3 separate regions of the Homo sapiens genome follow, and all the other regions are linked to region 2. Evidence: promoter capture Hi-C in 16 types of primary human blood cells and fetal thymus (Javierre and others, 2016). All regions are on one chromosome and are shown on one strand. The core of a region is centred on a gene start or on the middle of the fragment in contact, and the rest is flanking DNA. Distances in the headings are between cores, read along the strand shown.

Region 1 (3,992 bases), core at 1,277-3,776, 3.2 Mb after region 2:
AGAAGACATTAGTAAGCAACCATTTTTAAACTACTTTTTATTTGCATATCGCCTAGAAAAAGGGTCTCACGTACAACAGTACTTCACTCCTTACTGAATTCTATTTTATTTGCTCGGGAGGTGCGTGGCACTTTTTAGAAATAATTTTTATACAGAGAAGGAAATGCACAGCATAATCATTTTCAAAATACAGTTAAATTATTTAATATAATCTTTAATAACCTAGCTCTAATATCACTGAATTTCCTTAGCAAATTGTTAGTGTTGGCAAGCTGTTAAAACAACCATTCTAAAATATAAAAATATAAATCTCGCTATTGATGCTTAAGTTGTACATTTTCAAAGCCTTTGTAATTAAATATCTTATGGCAGAAATATTTCCTATAACTGCTCTAGAAATATTACAGCCTCCCGCTTAGTCCACAATCCCCATCTTCTATATGCCAAAAGCTGGTATATGCCTCTTATTTCAAATGCTGATTGGACAATTAAGTCATTTCCATCTATACATAAAATGCCCCTATAATTTAGGATCACAGGCAATTTAGATTTCTGCTCATTGAAATGCAGAACCTGAAGCAACCTCTAGTGACAGGAGCTATAGTGTTCAATATCATTTTACATGTTACAAGCAGAGGATTCATTGTACATACAAACAATGAACCCTGGCAGAGTTCTTTATCCTAAAGCCCCACAGATTGTTATTTAACGGTATTAATAGATAAGGTGACATAAGCAGTAAGTTCTGAAGAGCTTTTTCCAATAGCTATCAACATTTTTTTTAAGAGAGCAAAAACAGTATTCCCACATTTTCTGTTTCTTCTGTTCATTTTATTTCCCTGCTTTTGGTATCCAACAGAAGTGGTTTCAAATGAAAATCTTAAAATAATTATTCCAAAGACCAAGGATATTCTAAAAACCAGTAACAGTCTTTGCCTCTGAGAAGGGGAAACTGTAGGGTTTGGCGTGAAAGAGAGATTCACTTTTCAATGTGTTTGTACCTTTCCAATTGGATATCATTCGGTAGAACCATATTCTAAATGAGCATACATTTAAAATATTTTCAAGAACAAACAATTCACAAACTTACAGGTTTCCATTAACATTTTCGTTTGTGCAGCATTCGCTGAAGACCTAAGATTTTTATTCCTCCAATCACCTTCTCAACAACCTGCTGCAACAAATACTGAAGCTTTTTTGCAGCCAGGGATCAGTTAGGTGGATCCGAGGCCAGGCATTTAAATCAAAGAGATGCAGCAATCTTACTCAATACTACTACCACTCTCACGCATCTCATTCAACTCCATTTAAAACCACTGCAGCAAGACAGCTGGTACTCTCCTTCCTGTTTCTTTACCGTACAGGCTTAATAACAAAAACAGGTTGGTTTTGAAGCCCTGCTCAAATATTGCAAAAAGGAAGTCTTCGCATTCGGGAGGGGGAAAAAAGTTTCGACTTCGAGAGAATCTCATAGCTTCCGTGTCATTCCATTTGGGAATCCCAGATCCTGCCAGTGAGGTAGATGCTCGCTCTCTCGGTTAACTTTTCCACCCTAGATGCCCTCAAACTGCCTAGGAAGCAACTAAGTCTCCCAACGACCCATGGCTAGTTTTGTTAAGGCAGGTACAAGACAAGCAGTTTATTTAAACCATGACGAACTGGGTCGATGTTCATAAAATGAGAGATGGGGAGAGCAAAAAAAAAAAAAAAGTAGTAATAAAGACAGCCAAACTCCTAATTTTATCAACCAACTTCCCACTTGCCATTTCCCAGCCTTCACACCAGAGGTAGTAAAACGCCTTTTTACCGAGAAAACTAAGAAGCTACCCGAGCCCAACATGAAAATTCCGCGGACAATTCGTGTTAAAATATTTTTTAAATGCCCAAGTGAGGAGGAAACACAGCAACCAAATCTCACCCGGCTGGGAGGCTGGGGTGGGGGGGGTCCCCGCGGCTTTTCCCTCCCGTGCGTCCCAGAAGCTGCTAAGGAGCCGGGGCAGCAGGAGGACGACGCGGGGAGCTTTCAAAAGGGCTGGGGGAGGCAAGAGGAAGAAAAAACTTTAGGGACAGAAGGGGAAAGTGGGCCCCTGCAGTCCCCCCGCAAACTCCTCGGGTGACCCCTCCGCGCGGGGACCCCCTCGGATCCCCAAGCGGACTGCCACCCAGCTTCGTCTCAGCTCCTACCGCCGCGGGCCGCCCCCCGGGCTGAGGGGAAGCGGCGCGGCCCCGACACCCCGAAACTACCTCAGCGCGTCCCCCGGCCGGCGCGCCCCTCAGTGCCTTGGCAGATCTGAAGCCGCTGGCTCTCGCAGCCTGGGGAACTCGCCCCTCTTCCCTCCGCCTCGCACTCCACCCCCTCGCCCGCCACCGCCTCCTCCTTTATCTCCACTCACCTCCCGCCGCCATTTTCCTCGCAGCTCAGCTTTAAATCGGAAACTCGCCGCTCAGCCCGCAGCCGCCGCCGGCCGCCACCGACTAAGCCGCAGCCGCTGCCGTCGCTGTGGAGCGGCTGAGACAGCAGCAGCTAAAGTCGCCGCACGGGGGCCACTGGGATATGTAGTCCCGAGGCCACGCCCAGCACTACCGGTCCCAGGGGGCCTTGCGCGGCCGGCCTAGGGTTCCAGCGACCCCCACCCTGGCTTCCGCGGCGGAGGGCGTGGCGACGTGGGCTCGTGCGGCCGCTTTCGCCCAGCATCGACTGGGAGCTCCCTCGGGATCCGGAGAACCGGAATGCAGTCCTAGCCCTGCCCTTAATTTTTTTCATATTTGCCTTCGTCCAGTAATACCTAACATTTGTGGAGCGTTTCTGGTATGCCAAGCACGGATCCTCAAAACAAGCATCCGGTAGGGACCATGATCATCCTCATTTTTCAGATGAGCGAACTGAGGCACAAGGTCGGAAGCCACGAGGCTGTTCCTTAGCTGCTAAAGTCACTGGGTGAAATGTTGTTGGGCAGCAGTATATTCAGGGTATATTTAGTCCCGAAGTATCATCCCACAGCGTATTTATGACTTACAATAAAGAACAGCTTGCTTTACAATGGAAAGATCTGGCAGGCACCCCCTTACCAAGTGATCGAACTTAGCACCACCAATAATGGGTCAGGACTGTTGTTATGTGTCTCCTAATATGATGCAGTGGGGAAAGCATATTGCTACCTCTGTCGTATTCTTGCCACATACACACAAAAAGCTTACTTGAAAAAATAAACGAATTCAGAATGTGGGACATTCTACACAACATCTAGCCTGGAGTCTTTTAAAATATGACAGCATGAAAGAGGTGAAAACCAAAAGCAATAGGTGAGACTTGATTGGATTCAGGATGATTTTTTTATGTAAAAAGAATTTGGGGGGCAATTTCAATGTGGACTGTATGTTAGATAATATTGAGTCAGTATTAGATGTGTTGAGTGTAAATAAAATAGAATAATCTGACCACTTACCACCTCCACGGTCAGCACCATCATTTCCCACCTGGACCACTGCAACAGCCTCCTCAGTGTTCTGCCTGCTTCCACTCTTTCCTCTTAGAGTCTATACTCAACACAGCAGCCAGAGGAATCCTGGTAAGAACCAAGTCAGTCTCTGTCCCTCCTGCAAAATTCTTGCAGTAACCTGCAAAGCCCCATACAGCCCGTCTCTTGCCCTGCCCTTCCCTCTCTAAACTCATCACCTTCTTCTCTTCCACTCACTTCTGTAACTCAGCTACAATGGACTCGGCCTCTCCAACGTGCTTAGCACACTCTGGCCTTAAAGATCGTGCACTTGCTATTTCCTCTGCCTAGAACAGTATTTTCCCAGAAAATTCAAATAACCCATTCCCTAATCTCCCCATGGTCATTGTCCAAATGTCACTTATTCAGTGAGGCTTTCCCTAACTGCTCTATTTTAACTTCCTGCCCACTCTGATCCCAGCTTTCCCTACTCCTATTCCTTTCTTCATTTATTTTCAGAGCATGAATTATCATTAAAATCATGATATATTTCTG
Region 2 (4,160 bases), core at 575-3,074:
TGCCCAGGCTGGAGTGCAATGGTGCAAACTTGGCTCACTGCAACCTCCACCTCCCGGATTCAAGCGATTCTCCTGCCTCAGCCTCTCAAGTAGCTGGGATTACAGGCATGTGCCACCACGGCCGGCTAAAAATTTTTTGTATTTTTAGTAGAGATGGGGTTTCATCATGTTGGCCAGGCTGGTCTGGCACTCCTGACCTCAGGTGATCCACCCGCCTCGGCCTCCCAAAGTGCTGGGGTTACAGGCGTGAGCCACCGCGCCCAGACTCAAATCACATTTTTTAATGATGTTACAAACGAATGTCGATTTTCTCGATGTGATTCTCAGTTACAGAAACTTACAGAACTTTGCTTATCAACCCTAGACAATAAAACTATTCTACCTAGAGGCTCTAGGAAGCTTTCCTTACTCCACTGTACCTCACTCAAATCACTCCTTGATTTTACATACTCCTTAGTAGTCTTACCATCTATGATGCTCCATTACTTTTTTTTTTTGAAATTGATATACTTTCAATTTTCTCCTTTTCTGTGTTTTGGCCTTCTCAATTCTATTTTAAATGTTCTCAGGGCCCAGCCAGTGTCCTGTTTTGTATTCTGCAATGTCTAGAAGTTATTAAAAAGGCATGAAGGCTTTGCAAAAAAACAGCTTGAGGAAGTCATAACCTTTCTAAGCCTCAGTCTTCTCAGAGAATTGGGCTAGATTATCTAAGCTCCTTTTAACTCTTCAACTCAAGAAACGCTTGCTGAAAGTGTTCCCTTGGCTGCCGATCACCTTCAAATTCCAGCTCAAAACCCCCTTTGGAAGGCATTCCCTAACTAATCCCTCCCTACAGACTACCCTGCTCACTGAGCCTTGAGATTTAGAAATTCAGTGAATACCGAAGTAATTATCAGCAGATTGGCATACCGTTGGTCAAGGGGAAAAGCACTTGATGTGAGTAGGTAGCAGGATGGAATGAAAAGAGCATCTAGAGTCAAACTGTAAAGTGCTACTCCAACGTAAGGTGATAGTACTAATTTTACAGATTAAATGCATACCAAAGTTAGTGCTAGAAAGAGCGCCAGCAGGAAGCAAAGCGAACTTTTAAAGGGCTGTTTAGTTCACTGGGCTCTCTCCTTCGCCACTCGATGCGCCCCTTAACCACAGAAAGTGGGAACAACGGGGTGGTCCAGGGCCCTTTACTCACAGCCCAGCAGGCAGGATTCTCCTACACCTTTTGAGCAGCCTCGCATTTCACTCAGTGTGCGCCATCCTTGGATATACCTTGGCCCCTACTCCCGTCCGTGAACACGGGAATGAGATTTACGGAATGAGATTAAATGCTGGACTAGGTCTTCTTCCTGCCCGGGCCAGGGGCGGACACTAGCGCCCCCTGACCCCCGCCACCCCCTCCTCGGCAAGTTTATTACCCACAGTCTCCCGACCGCACCGTCCAGACCCCGGGGCAGCTCAGCCCGTCGCCTCCCCCGGCGCTCCGAGCCTGGCCCGGCCTCTCCCAGGCCCCGGCCCCCCAGGCCCGCCGCTCCGCCCAGCCCGGGCCCCGCGCACCTTGCTCTTCACCTCCATAGTGCCCAGGCAGCCGCTGCCCGCCCCGTGCCGGTGGCTGCGGTTCATGCTGAACGCCGAGCCCCGCGACGGCCTCCTCCGGCCGGGCGGCCCCTCAGGAGCGCGGGGAGCGAGTGCGCGACTGGGGATCTCGGAAAGCGGTTGCGGCCCGGGCGCCTCCTCACAGGCACCTGCAGAGGGGGCGGCCGCAGCTCCGGCGTCCGCGCTGAGCTCCACTCCACCAGCTGCTCACACGGCGGGACCGAGGGTCGGACTGGTGGCGCGGCAGGCGGGGAAGCAGCTCCCTCCCTCCGGGCCCCGGCGGCGACGGCGACAGCGCTGGAGGAGAGGAGGGGGCGGAGCGGAGGCCACAAGCGCCGCAACCTCTCCCTCTGCCGCCTCCCCCGCGAGCCCGCGCGCGCGCACCCGAGCGGACCACAGCCGCGGCGCGTGCGCGCGCTCACCTGCAGCCCCCGAAGATGCCGCAATCCCTCGCGTTCCGCCCACACCCAATAGAAAGCGCGCACCTGCGCCCGCGGCGCCAACCAATCGATACACGCCTCGCGCGGTGCGTGGGCGGGCTGCCTCCTCAAAACCCCGCCTACCACCGCACGATTGGTCCTGCGCTACGAGGGAGGGGCGGGATCACCTGAAGCCATGGCCCTCCGCCCCGCTTCAGGCCGGAGAGCCAGAAGGCGCATGCGCGGGTGCTGGAGTTTCCGCCCCGGGAAGGCACGCGGGGAGGCCGGCCGGAAGCGCGAGCGCACCTGAAGAAGGGCTCGGCTGGGTGGGCCTTTTGCGCACGCGCGAGCGCGCGCCTGGTTGCCCGGCTCCGCCGGGGCTCGCGCCGCTTAGCGCGCGCCAGTCACACGCACGGTCCAGGGGATTGGATGCGCCGCCCGTCCGGTTGCCGAGGCGCTGCGGGGCTATTCGGTTCCAGCCGGGCCCCCTTCCCGCTTCCACTTTGGGATGCTGCAGCCCCCAACGACGCCCCTCCACCGCCCCTTATCGTTGCTTAGGCGTCCCGCTGCAACTCTTGGTTGCAAAATTCAAGTTTTCCCGCCTCTGCAGCGGTTGCTGGGGGAGAAGCTTAGGGCTCTCTTGGCTTCATTTTGTCCGAAGAGACTCTGCACGCCTTAAGTCCGTCAGGTCGAGAGGGAAGGAAAGTGGGCTGAGGCGCGGGAAGGCTCCTTGCAGGCCCAGCCTCCCTGAGGATTTCTAGTCCAGTCTTTCAGGGCTTTTTTTTTTTTTCTTTAAAAGTCTTCCTTTTCCCTCCTCCCGCCATTCCTTGGCCATTCGCTGTTTCTACAAATGACAGCCTCTAGGTTGTGTTCGTTTCCCGGAGTGACCAAGCTGTGTCCCAGAGCAACAAAACGCTGAATCCTCCTCTCTGAACGTCCCAGAGCCCGGCCTCTCTTCACACAGACCCTGTGGGTCATGGGGAGGAGAGGAGAAGACTGAAGCTTTTGGCTGGAGGAGATTCCCAGGTCCCAAGGTCTCCCTGTGGGACCCGGGAATCCAAGAGCTGTTGAAACCTGCAAGCCAGGAAGGGGGCAGGGGAATGGAGGTGGAGGGGAAGGTCCAACCTGAGATTTGGCAAGAAGAGTGGTTAGGGTACCTTCCTCCCCTCATCTCCCTGCCCACCTCGGAGGCCTCCTAACACTTGTACCCCTGTTGCCCAGCACTTGTTACAAGTTACAGGTTTCCCATTTTTGTGTGCATCTGAGTTTTGTGAGTAATCTGCCACCAGCCTAGAATGAAAGCTCCCGAAGGCGCAGGGACGGCTTGTGCTTTGCTGGCATTGAGTGGCACAGAACCCGACTCCCAGCGGGTACTCAGATGGGTCTTTGCTGGGTGCTGCCACTGAGGGTGTCCCTTCTGCAGGCTCTTTGCCCCACTTGGGTTCAAAGGCGAGAAGCTCATTTTTTTCCCTCTGGAGGATTCAGGTAACCAGACGTTTTGTGGGAGGATTTAAGGTTTTTCTGGCCACCTGTGGCAGCACAGGTGGAAAGGACACCAATCCAAGCTGTATAATAAATAAGCAAGCTGCCTCCACCCCCTGTTTGAAAGCACATAGGAGGTGACTCAAGTTCAGCCGGAAATAAAGTGCATGTCAGGGCCTGTAACTCCCCTGTTTGGACTAGCACAGCAGTTCCCAACCTTTTTGTTTTCAAGACCCCTTTACACTATTAAAAATCATGGAGGACCCCAAAGTACTTTGTTTATGTGTAATGTCTTTCAATATTTATCTTAGAATTAAAACGGATGTGTCCAAAACATGGGAGTACACAAGCATGCATTCCAACAGTCATCAGAGTGATGATGTCATCACATGTCTTGTCCCTTCTGGAAAACTCCATTGTATACTCGTGAGACAATGGGAATGATGAGAACAAATGACATCTTAGTTTTGTGAAAGCAGTTTTGGCCTTGCAGAGACCCCCGTAAAGGGGTCTCAGGGACTCCCAGAGACCACACTCTGATCATGGCTGGACTAGATACCATGTCACCACCTTTAGAGAGCTCCGTTCTTAGGTCTCCTCCTCCTCTCCCTGATTGGCAAGGCCACACCCTGGGAGCAGCACCCCAGCTCTGTGTGAGTGAGTGTTGGG
Region 3 (4,014 bases), core at 503-3,002, 3.4 Mb after region 2:
TTATTTAGCTTCTGTGGTTCCAGGTTGCTGTTTTAAAAAATCCTGTTAATTAAGCACCTTGTCATTTAAAATGCCGAAGAAGGAAAGAGAGCGAGAAAGCTGGGGACATTTTACGGTCCTTTTCTATCTCTGGGTACAGACCAACTGCGAAGGCAGCTTTAGGGAGGAGACCAGCAAAGACCTCCTAACGCAATTGAAGTGGGTAGAATTGTAAGCAGCTCTGAACAACCAGTTAATATTTTACTGGGGAGCGGTGCCAGAGATGGGGGGGTGGGGGGGCTGCCAAATGGAGGGCTGTGTGTGAAATCGCTGCTCCATCTGCCTTGGGGGACGAAAAGAAGCCGTTCTCTGTGCAAATAAATGGAAGCAAGAATCCTTAGGAAGCCCAGGGGATTTGTCTGCCCACCGAGGAGGGCCCAACTCCCCCAGGCACACACATACAGGGATGATTGTGGCAGGAAGGGCTGACCTACGGGGGTAGGCCTGACGCATAATGGGGGCTCTTGTTTCCGGGCTGAGCGTGCCATCTTTCTGTCTCCCTCTGGATTGAAATGGCTTCTCAGCCCGAGAGGCACTGCCTGTGCCCTGGATTCACAAGGTACACGCCTCCCTGGGAAGCAAAGGCTGAGAGACAGCGGCTCTCTCTCTCTCTTTCTGCATCTGCCGGGAGAGCTGCAGCTGGTATTTTTCCACAGGCCTTCGCTGCGATCTCAAGGCCTAGTTTTTCCCAGCCAGGCCCCGAGTCCGAGAGAGGGTTAACAGGCAGGAAGCCGAAGGCATCGCAGGCTAATACGGAAGTCAGATTTGTGTTTAACTGACAGGTTTAGCAGGTCTCGGCCGCGGGGGAGGGGCCGGGAGGGAAGGGAAGTTTGTAGATCCAGGCATGTGGCCTGCGAGGAGGGCTTTGGGTTTTTCTTAGGGTAAGGACCGAGAGGGGTCCCCCTTGGCATCGTGGCAGGGCGACAGGAACCCACGTTGATTTTGCCTGCAGGACTGGCTAAGCAGGGCGCGAGAGGCCCACGGCTCCCTGGCCTGCCTTGCAAGGAGGCATGGGGACAATGACTATGCAAACTTGACCACTCTGCTCCCCTCCTCCCCTCAGCAGCTACTCCTCGCTCCTCTGAGAAGCCAGGGCTGCTCTCTGCTGATTTTTCGGGGCTCCCCCGGGCTGCCTGCTTCCCCCAGCTTCTCAGAGGCCTGCCTCAAGCCCCTTTTTCTGGCCCCTTGGCTGTTTCCCCGGGACTCCCCACTCCCCAGCTTCCCCTTCCCCTTGGAGAGCCACCCTGCTGGACTGTTCTAGAAAAAGGCTGGCCTTCCTCCCTGGACAAGGGCCGTTTCTCTGGGGGCAGGTGAGGGTGAGCCGTTCCAGCCCACTCCAAGAAACTCCCTTCCCAGGGACCTCCGGGCCTCAGGCTTTCCTGGAGCAGGTCAGGCTGGCTGCCCTGGCTGGCCCGTGCCGGGAAATCTAGCCAGGGTGCAGGAGAAGTGCGTGTGGGGGCCCCTTTCCCAAGTTTTTCTTGCTGCAAAAGGCCTAGCTTAGCCTGTCTTTTTCTATGCACAGGATGGCTCTTGCTCACCCGAGCCTCACAAAGATAATCGCTCAGGAAGTGTTTCAGCCAATCCGGGGCGGCTTTACACTCCGATTTGCCGGGGCAGCCAATCGGGGATGAGCTTTTATTAGGCGGCCAGATCATCAGCCGAAGTGCCAAACCCTTTTTCTGTGAGAACTAGGAGCCTGTCCTCCATGTTTTATAAGTATTGACATTACACAGTGTTAACAATGCATCCACAGAGGTAAGCTCGACTTTTTAACCATCTTTTTTCCCCCTCCCTCTGAGACATCCGAATTGTGGGCGAGCAGTGTGATTTCTCTGTGGCTGGCCGTGCCACACTCACCCCCAGAGCACTTATGTTAACTTGGAACTGTTTAGAGAGAATTTTTTTGCTTTCTTGGGTCACATGGCTCAGTAGCCATTAGCCATAGCTTGATTTTGCAAACTGGCAAGGGCCTGGCACACCTTTCCTTCCACCAGGGCATGGTGTTTCTGGAAGAGTTTGAAGCTAGATCCTGGTATGCCAAAAAAGAAGCTTTTTTTTTTCCTTCTTTTTTTTTTTTTCTTTCCCTCTTCCCTCTCTCTTCCCCTCTCTCTCTCTCTGAGCAGTTCCCCCCCTCCCACCCCTGCACTATTGTCTTCTCTTTTGCCACATGCCCTGCTGGGGGAAGAAAATGGAAGGTAAGCAAACAGGCTCCTCTCCAAGGAGAGCTCATGGCAGACAGCAGAGCAGGCAAGTTTGCCTCTCCAAAGAGGTTCTGGGAAGGCTGGATAAGTTTTGACAAGAGAGGAGCGTGTTTGCAAAAGAATTGTGCCCTCAGCAGAGCAGTGCTAAGGAGAGTCTAGCTCCTGGGGCCTAGGTGGGTGGTGGTGTCTGTACACGGTCTTCTCTTATTCTACAGAGCTTCTGCACTTGAAACTACATTGTTCAGCCTGTTTTCCTGACTTAGGTTGCTACAGAGTGTTCTGCAAGCCAGCCTACAGCCAGCAAATGTTTCTGAAAGTGTTTTCTAGGCTTTGGAGGAAGTTTTTTGGAGTAGGGATGGGGACTGGGGGGTGGGGGGAGAGATCTTGGACAACATCCTGCAAAAAAAAAAAAAAAAAAAAATCTGCAAGGATTCTGAATCCCTTAGCTTTCTACTCTTGCATGATTTTCAAGGAACTAATGTTACCTTTTATCCTTGTTTTCATTTTCCTGTCCCTTTTATACATTGTATCCTCCTCTCTTCTCCTGTGTCATGGAGTGTAGAGGAAATAAAATCATGTCTGTGGCTCATGACAGCATTCCATATTCAGTTGTTGGGTTGTGTTGTTGTTGTTGTGTGTGTTTTTAATAATACCATGTAACTGTTTAAAAAAATTTCCTTTTTGATCAAGTCCCAAATCTGCCAGCCTGTTCTCTCTTCCTAACTGTGGAAAAATGAGACGGTTGCTTGAACATTTGTTGGGTAAGTAAAGCAATCCATTTCCTCTGTGACCATGTTTGAAGAGTTTTGCGAACATTTGGGGTCTGTTTGTAATAGTGGGTCTTGGCTACAGGAGTTGGGGGCTTCATTAGCAGGAACAAAATAAGGGCTTTTTAAAGAGTGTCTTGATTTTAGGTGACTGTTTGAATCCACTGTTTTTCCTGATAACCTGCAGCTAGGATTGAAGATTATACTTCCTGTTTACCCTGAGTCAGGGGAGAAATGTTCAGTTCATTGTGACTTGACTCTAGACCTTTAATGGGGTTTGTTTGGATATTCAAACTGTGAGTAGGTGATGTGCTTGTGAAATGTCATGAAACTGCTTGTTCTTAGAGGTGCAGAGCCCTAAAAACATTGGTGGTGTAGAAGCTGGTGGTGGTGGTGGTATGTGTGTGTTGGGGGGGTGGTGTCAGTGTGCTCATGTTTTAGGACTTATGTATAGTGCAAAATCTCATCTACCACCAGACTGGGTTTGATTCAGGACTCACTGACCAACACATTTTGGCCTTTTTTCAGGTCTCCTCCACACATCTGTATGCATGCTGGCCCCACATAAGATTTCTCACTTTTTACATTTCCCTTGACCACTTAAGGCTGCAGCTAGAAGTTAAGTGGGAAAAGTAGAGTCTTGTTTAGCAGTACCTTCAGAATTTCCCTAGAAGTTCAGTACATAAATTTTCAGCTTGGAGACCAATCCGACATGACCGTAAATGCAGGAAATATATTCAATTGCTGTGTTATGTCAACTTTATGGAGTCAGTAATCTTTTTTCTTTCAAATGAGTGTCCAGTAGCCCACTTTCTGACACCGAATTGGAAAAAGGCTCATTTAATCAGCAGAAACGTACCACATTCTAAGTTGAGAAAAGTCTGTGCAAGGCAGGCCAGCTTAGCTTCTTAGAGTAAAACTGCAGGCAGTTAATGATGTTATATACTTAAAACTGAACAGTGCCACTGCCCCAAACAAGTAAGTTCAGACACTCAGCTATTTTCTTT

Evidence for each region. Contacts are between HindIII fragments. The CHiCAGO score rates a contact against its expected background, and 5 or more counts as called.
Region 1: the fragment with the promoter of NCOA3 here is called in contact with the fragment with the promoter of PARD6B in region 2 in 1 of 17 cell types (fetal thymus); the score reaches 6.9 in fetal thymus.
Region 3: the fragment with the promoter of ZMYND8 here is called in contact with the fragment with the promoter of PARD6B in region 2 in 1 of 17 cell types (activated CD4 T cells); the score reaches 5.3 in activated CD4 T cells.

The regions. Positions count from the first base shown.
Region 1 is chr20:47,500,421-47,504,412 of GRCh38, reverse strand. NCOA3 (nuclear receptor coactivator 3) reads right to left here and starts at 2,526. Exons shown (of 23, transcript NM_181659.3): 1 at 2,394-2,526. RefSeq lists a silencer at 2,167-2,286 and a cis regulatory region at 3,538-3,610. The HindIII fragment of the contact is 2,001 bases long and covers 1,195-3,195 here.
Region 2 is chr20:50,729,244-50,733,403 of GRCh38, reverse strand. It overlaps PARD6B (par-6 family cell polarity regulator beta), which reads right to left and starts at 1,824. Exons shown (of 3, transcript NM_032521.3): 1 at 1,552-1,824. The coding sequence starts at 1,617. RefSeq lists silencers at 1,382-2,171, 2,272-2,481 and enhancers at 2,672-2,721, 3,674-4,160. The HindIII fragment of the contact is 2,238 bases long and covers 402-2,639 here.
Region 3 is chr20:47,354,437-47,358,450 of GRCh38, reverse strand. ZMYND8 (zinc finger MYND-type containing 8) reads left to right here and starts at 1,752. Exons shown (of 23, transcript NM_001281775.3): 1 at 1,752-1,794. The coding sequence starts at 1,781. It overlaps LOC101927377 (a long non-coding RNA gene), which reads right to left. Exons shown (of 2, transcript NR_134501.1): 2 at 3,818-4,014. RefSeq lists enhancers at 107-712, 392-741, 1,492-1,786, 1,321-1,928, 1,772-1,941 and 3 more. The HindIII fragment of the contact is 2,834 bases long and covers 1-2,090 here.